2 separate regions of the Homo sapiens genome follow, and region 2 is linked to region 1. Evidence: promoter capture Hi-C in 16 types of primary human blood cells and fetal thymus (Javierre and others, 2016). All regions are on one chromosome and are shown on one strand. Each heading gives the region's core, a stretch centred on a gene start or on the middle of the fragment in contact. The rest is flanking DNA. Distances are from core to core; before and after follow the strand shown. Region 1 holds the start of CCDC90B (coiled-coil domain containing 90B). Region 2 overlaps LOC105369422 (a long non-coding RNA gene).

What was found. The method cuts DNA at HindIII sites, captures the fragments that hold promoters and counts their contacts. A CHiCAGO score of 5 or more calls a contact.
Region 2: a fragment that was not itself captured here is called in contact with the fragment with the promoter of CCDC90B in region 1 in 2 of 17 cell types (non-activated CD4 T cells and total CD4 T cells); the score reaches 7.6 in non-activated CD4 T cells.

What each region holds. Positions count from the first base shown.
Region 1 is chr11:83,285,077-83,287,776 of GRCh38, reverse strand. It overlaps CCDC90B (coiled-coil domain containing 90B), which reads left to right and starts at 1,410. Exons shown (of 9, transcript NM_021825.5): 1 at 1,410-1,904. The coding sequence starts at 1,805. CCDC90B-AS1 (CCDC90B antisense RNA 1) reads right to left here and starts at 1,657. Exons shown (of 3, transcript NR_186344.1): 1 at 1,230-1,657. RefSeq lists enhancers at 1,373-2,022, 1,445-2,040, 2,073-2,152, 2,041-2,637. The HindIII fragment of the contact is 4,800 bases long and covers 956-2,700 here.
Region 2 is chr11:87,033,710-87,036,409 of GRCh38, reverse strand. The region is part of intron 1 of LOC105369422 (a long non-coding RNA gene); the gene reads left to right. Among named protein-coding and RNA genes, the nearest start is that of TMEM135, 2.9 kb to the left of the region's middle. The HindIII fragment of the contact is 2,330 bases long and covers 250-2,579 here.

The DNA.
Region 1 (2,700 bases), core at 161-2,660:
CAAAACCCTGCCTCAAGCCAAAAAAAAAAAAAAAAAAAAAAAGACACATGCAACCGTATGTTCATTGTAGTGCCATTCACGATAGCAAGGACATGAAATCAACCTAAGTGCCCATCAACAGTGGACTGGATAAAGAAAATGTGGTACATATACACCATGGAATATAATGCAGCCATAAAAATAAGGAAATTATACTCTTTGTAGCAACATGGATGGAACTGGAGCCATTATCCTATGCAACCTAATGCCAAGAACAGAAAACCAAATACACATGTTCTCACTTATAAGTAGGAGCTAAACATTGAATATATGATGGTAAACGTGGAAACAACAGGCATTGAGGATCATTAGATGAGGAAAGGGGGAGACGGACAGAGGGGCATGGGTTGAAAAAGCACCTGTTGAGTACTATGCTTACATCCTGTTGGGATCATTGGGACCCCTAACCTCGATATACCCTAAGGTTTTGCGTTTTGTATTTTGAAACTGGTAAGATCAAACTTTTTTCCCAATTTTTTTTTTTTTTTTTTAGATCGAGTCTCACTCTGTCGCCCAGGCTGGAGTGCAATGGTGTGATCTCGACTCACTGCAACCTCCGCCTCCAGGATTCAAGCGATTCTCCTACCTCAGCCTCCTGAGTAGCTGGGATTACAGGCATGTGCCACCACGCCCGGCTAATTTTGTATTTTTAATATAGACAGGGTTTCTCCACGTTGGTCAGGTTGGTCTCGAACTCCCGACCTCAGGTGATCTGCCCGCCTCGGCCTCCCAAAGTGCTGGAATTACAGGCATGAGCCACCACGCCCAGCCATCCCAGTGTTTTAAATAGCAATTTATATTTCCTCTTCATGAATTGTCTGTTAAAGCAGTTGTTGGCGGGAATCAAGTTTTGTTCTTTCAATGTGCTTCGGGCCTTAGAAATGGTGTTTGTTACTTAGTTGACTCTCACAAAGCTTTGAATACATATAGATAGAAACCTAGCCGTAATTGTTTAGAATCTTGAGAGAGTAAGCCACTAACACCGCACAACTGTGTGCCATTTTACAACTTACAGAGAATATTCATGAGTATTAGTGCATTTTAATACAACTACTGTGCATTGTTGCTTTCAGCATTTTACTATGCGGAGCAGTCTTGAGTAACTGAGGTCTGAGAAGGATAAATGGTGAAAATTCAAGGAATTTCTCCTAGAAACGGAGGAATTCGGCTTCCCTAAAGAAAGGACATACCGACTGAAATAGTTGGTCCTCCCGTGCACCAGAGGGTGAAGCAGCAGGATGTGACGCCTCACGAAAAGTGAGCGGCTTGCTGGACTACACTTCCCAGAAGGTTTCGTTGGCCCTCGCACTACGCAATCACCCAGAACGCTCAGCGGCCGAAAACTTCAGGTTCCAGGCTGCTGTGCGGCTAAATGCGACTCCATCTCCCCCGACCCAAGCGCGTAATGGCCGCTGGCTATCTTGGGGGAGCCAGCTGTTGGACTATGCCCCACTGCCAGGAAACAGGCGCCGGAAGGTTCTCTGACAAGATCTCGCTTTCCTAGGGCGGTGAAGGCGTTCAAAGGTCGGGAAGGGGCGCTGGGAGAAGCGGGGCAGCGCTGAGCCATGCTCGCGAACTGTGGGTCTGTCTGTGAAGAGACCCAGTTTCGTGGGACCACGGTGGCGCCTGCGCTGGGAGGTGAGCTTGTGACAGAGCGAAAACTACAATTCCCAGCATTCCTGTGGTGCCAGAACTACCTTGCCCGAAAGCCTGTGCGAGATTTACCCCGTCTTCCGCCTCCCTCCCACCGGAAAACTCTGAGGACATGAATAGTCGCCAGGCTTGGCGGCTCTTTCTCTCCCAAGGCAGAGGAGATCGTTGGGTTTCAAGGCCCCGCGGGCATTTCTCGCCGGCCCTGCGGAGAGGTGAGGCAAGGCGTCGTGTCATAGATGCCTGAGTGCTCTCTAGGGAGACGATGCCCGTGGGGTCGCGCCTGCTCGAGCGAACGGGAAGAGAAGGTGCCACGCCCTCCTCCCGGATTCACGCCTTGTGCTGGGCGACGCCGCTGCCTGCTGCCCCGACTTGCCCAGCTCGCCCCAAGGGGCGAGGACTGAGGAAAGCACTGCCTTTCTGTTCTTAAAGCGAACCTTTGAAGGCCTGGGCTTCGCGCCCGGCTTCTTTCTCAGCCGTTGTTTCCGTTTTTTGGTGACAAGAGGCTAGTAATCTCGTCAGGAGCCAACGTAAGGTAATCTGTGTTTGAGGGTGTCCTGTTTTCTTTTGTGGCCTGATCAAATTTTGATTTTGTTTTTTTAGGTGCTGGCCTCGAGCCCAGGTTTTTGGTAGACAGCATCATAAATTTCAGGCCACGTCTGCCTTATTCTCACTGGAATTCTCAGTACATTTCAGTCACATTGTAGACTTTGGGAAAATAAGTGAATACTGGAACCCACAAGTTTCCAACCTGTTGGCACCCCTGTTAACAGGGTGTCCTGAAGACATCTAACTTTATTCAGAGAAATGTTTCTAGGGCTAGGTTTTTGTTGTCGTCGTTGTTTTTCACCCCCAGTTTTTTAACTTCCCTCCCAGTTTTTAAACCGTTTTAAGGTTGTCCACAAAATAGGCGAATAGGCACCTCTTATCTCTGTTCACCTTCTTGAATCTTCAGTGCCAGGTACGCTGAGCCATTCGGTACCCAAACACTTCTACGCTGTTATTTATACT
Region 2 (2,700 bases), core at 165-2,664, 3.7 Mb before region 1:
GCTCCTGTAATCGTAGCTACTCAGGGACTGAGGCAGGAGAATCGCTTGAACTCAGGAGGCAGAGGTTGCAGTGGGCCAAGATCACACCACTGTTGCCTTGGCAACAGAGAGAGACTCTATCTCAAAAAAAAAAAAAAAAAAAAAACGGGGGGGCGGGGGCGGGGAGAAAAGGGCATACTTCCTGTTTTTAAAAAAACTTCCCAGAAGATCCATACAAACTACTACAACTTACGTTCCTTGGACAAAGCTTAATCACATGGCCACACTTCATTGCAAGAGAGGATGGTGAATACAATCTTTTTTAATTAATGGGACAAATGCCCAGCTAACATTTGAGGTTTTATTACTGAGCAAAATGGAAAAAACAGATATTAGAGGCAACTAGCAGTGTCTGCCATAGTTCTATGTCTCTGGCTACCCAAATATCCGGGCACACCATTCTTTCTACAGATAGACATACCTTCCCTTTTCCAAGGGAGACAACCTAAAATTCCATGCAGTTGCTGAATCCTAGCCAAAGTCCAGAATATTCCTCAGGACCAGATGCAGATCTCATGATAAAGTTATCATCCGCCTCAACACATCCAATATACAATGGTAGAATAGGAACAAGATAATCACAATTTTTTTCAAATCTCCAATTCAGAAACTAAGAAGATCAAAAACACAGCATAAACTTATCCAAAAAATTACAGAAATAGCAGTGCAGGCTTATTTTTTTTCAATAATCCATTCCTGAATATCTGTGATCCTTTCACAAGAAAATGCTGAATAGGAACTTAGTTTTAAATGGGAAAAAATAAAATGCATTACATATCAACCAAAAAATTCTTAACAAGTATTTAAAACATAGTATCAAATATTAACAAAAAATGATCATGTTAAGATGTACAATACTATACAAATAACATCTTATTCACCAAACAATTAATACGAGCTGGGCACGGTGGCTGATACCTATAATCCCAACACTTTGGGAGGCTGAGCTTGGTGGATCACCTGAGGTCATAAGTTCAAGACCAGCCTGGCCTATGGTGAAACTCCATCTCTACTAAAAATACAAAAAGTAGCCAGACATGGTGGTGGACACCTGTAATCCCAGCTACTCAGGAGGCTGAGGCAGGAGAATCACTTGAACCTGGGAGGCGGAGGTTGCAGTGAGCCGAGATGGTGCCACTACACTCCAGCCTGGGCAACAGAACAAGACTCCGTCTCAAAAAAAAAAAAATTTTTAATATGATTGTTAACTCTCAGTTGCTTCTGAATGTAATAGCACAATATAGTTTTCATGCCTGATAATAAACAATATGTTTACTATGTGGCCCAGCAATTACACATTAATAAATAAGGAAATTTTAAAATTACAATTAAAACCAGGTGGTTTCTTTTAGTTAACTGTTTTTTGTTTGTTTTGAGACATGGTCTCACTCTGCTACCCAGGCTGAAGTGCAGTGGCGCAATCACAGCTCACAGCAGCCTATATCCCCTGGGCTCAGGAGATCCTCCTGCCTCAGCCTCCTGAGTAGCTGGGACCACAGGTACGCCACCACACCTGGCTAATGTTTTTAAATTATTTGTAGGGTCTCCCTGTGTTACCCAGACTGCTCTTGAACTCCTGGGCTCAAGCTGTCCACCCACCTCAGCCTCCCAAACTGCTGGGATTACAGGTGTGCACCAACACACCTGGTCCTAATTAACTGTTAAATGGAGACTTGAAGCATAAAGAAATTTGAGAAAAAGGGGATGGTGCCAAAGGGGACAATGCTGATGAGCTGGGTGGCAAAGGGGTGATTTCAGGGAAACTCCCAAGTTCAAAAGAAAGGATACTCTATCTTTTCTAGTGCTGCTATGGAGATTCCAAAACAGGAAGGCATTGATAAATCCTCAGGGGAGATGATCTGTGCTTTAGGATGCAAAAAAAATTGCAAAATGGAGCAGTATGCAGTTAAACCAGTAGCTTACATTTGTAAATTTCTTTATATGGTATTATAAGATATAGCAGGCTGTTTTTTAAAAGAAAGCCTTCTCTTCATGCCACCATTAAGTTTAAAGATAATGTTAAACATTGCATCTGCATGGGTCATTTATTCTTTTAGGTTGGCTATGACAGTGGCTTGATTGGATACTTTCTGGGGGCTTCATTGTTTCTTCTTTTTCATTAAAAAAACGCAGGGAGGGCTTTAGGGTTCATCAACAAGGTGAAGCAAAGAGTTTCTCCAAAGAAGGTGCACAGTGGATGAAGAAAACTAATCTGGCAATTTATGATGGAATTCAAAGGCTTTGAAGAAACGCCAAGATGAAAATTGTTGCCCCTTTCTTTGTGATGGAAGAATGAAAAAAAAAAAAAAAACACAAAGTTGTTGCTCTTGTAGGATTCTAGTTTTGAAGATGTCAACGAAAAAGAATGGAAGAGCTCTTAAGATCTAATGCAGAGGATTTAACGACACTAATCTAGTTTAGATCTACATGCAGTCATTGTAGAAATAATTATCAGGCACAAGTACAATGGCAAAGTACGGCAAACTCGAAGTATGACACTGTAGTAGCTCTTGATTCCAGCAACAGTCAGTAACCAAGCTTTTCACAAAGCTACATATGATTCTGATTTTCTTTTCTTTTCTTTTCTTTTGAGACGGAGTCTTGCTGTGTCACCCAAGCTGGAGTGCAATGGGACGATCTCGGCTCACTGCAAACTCCGCC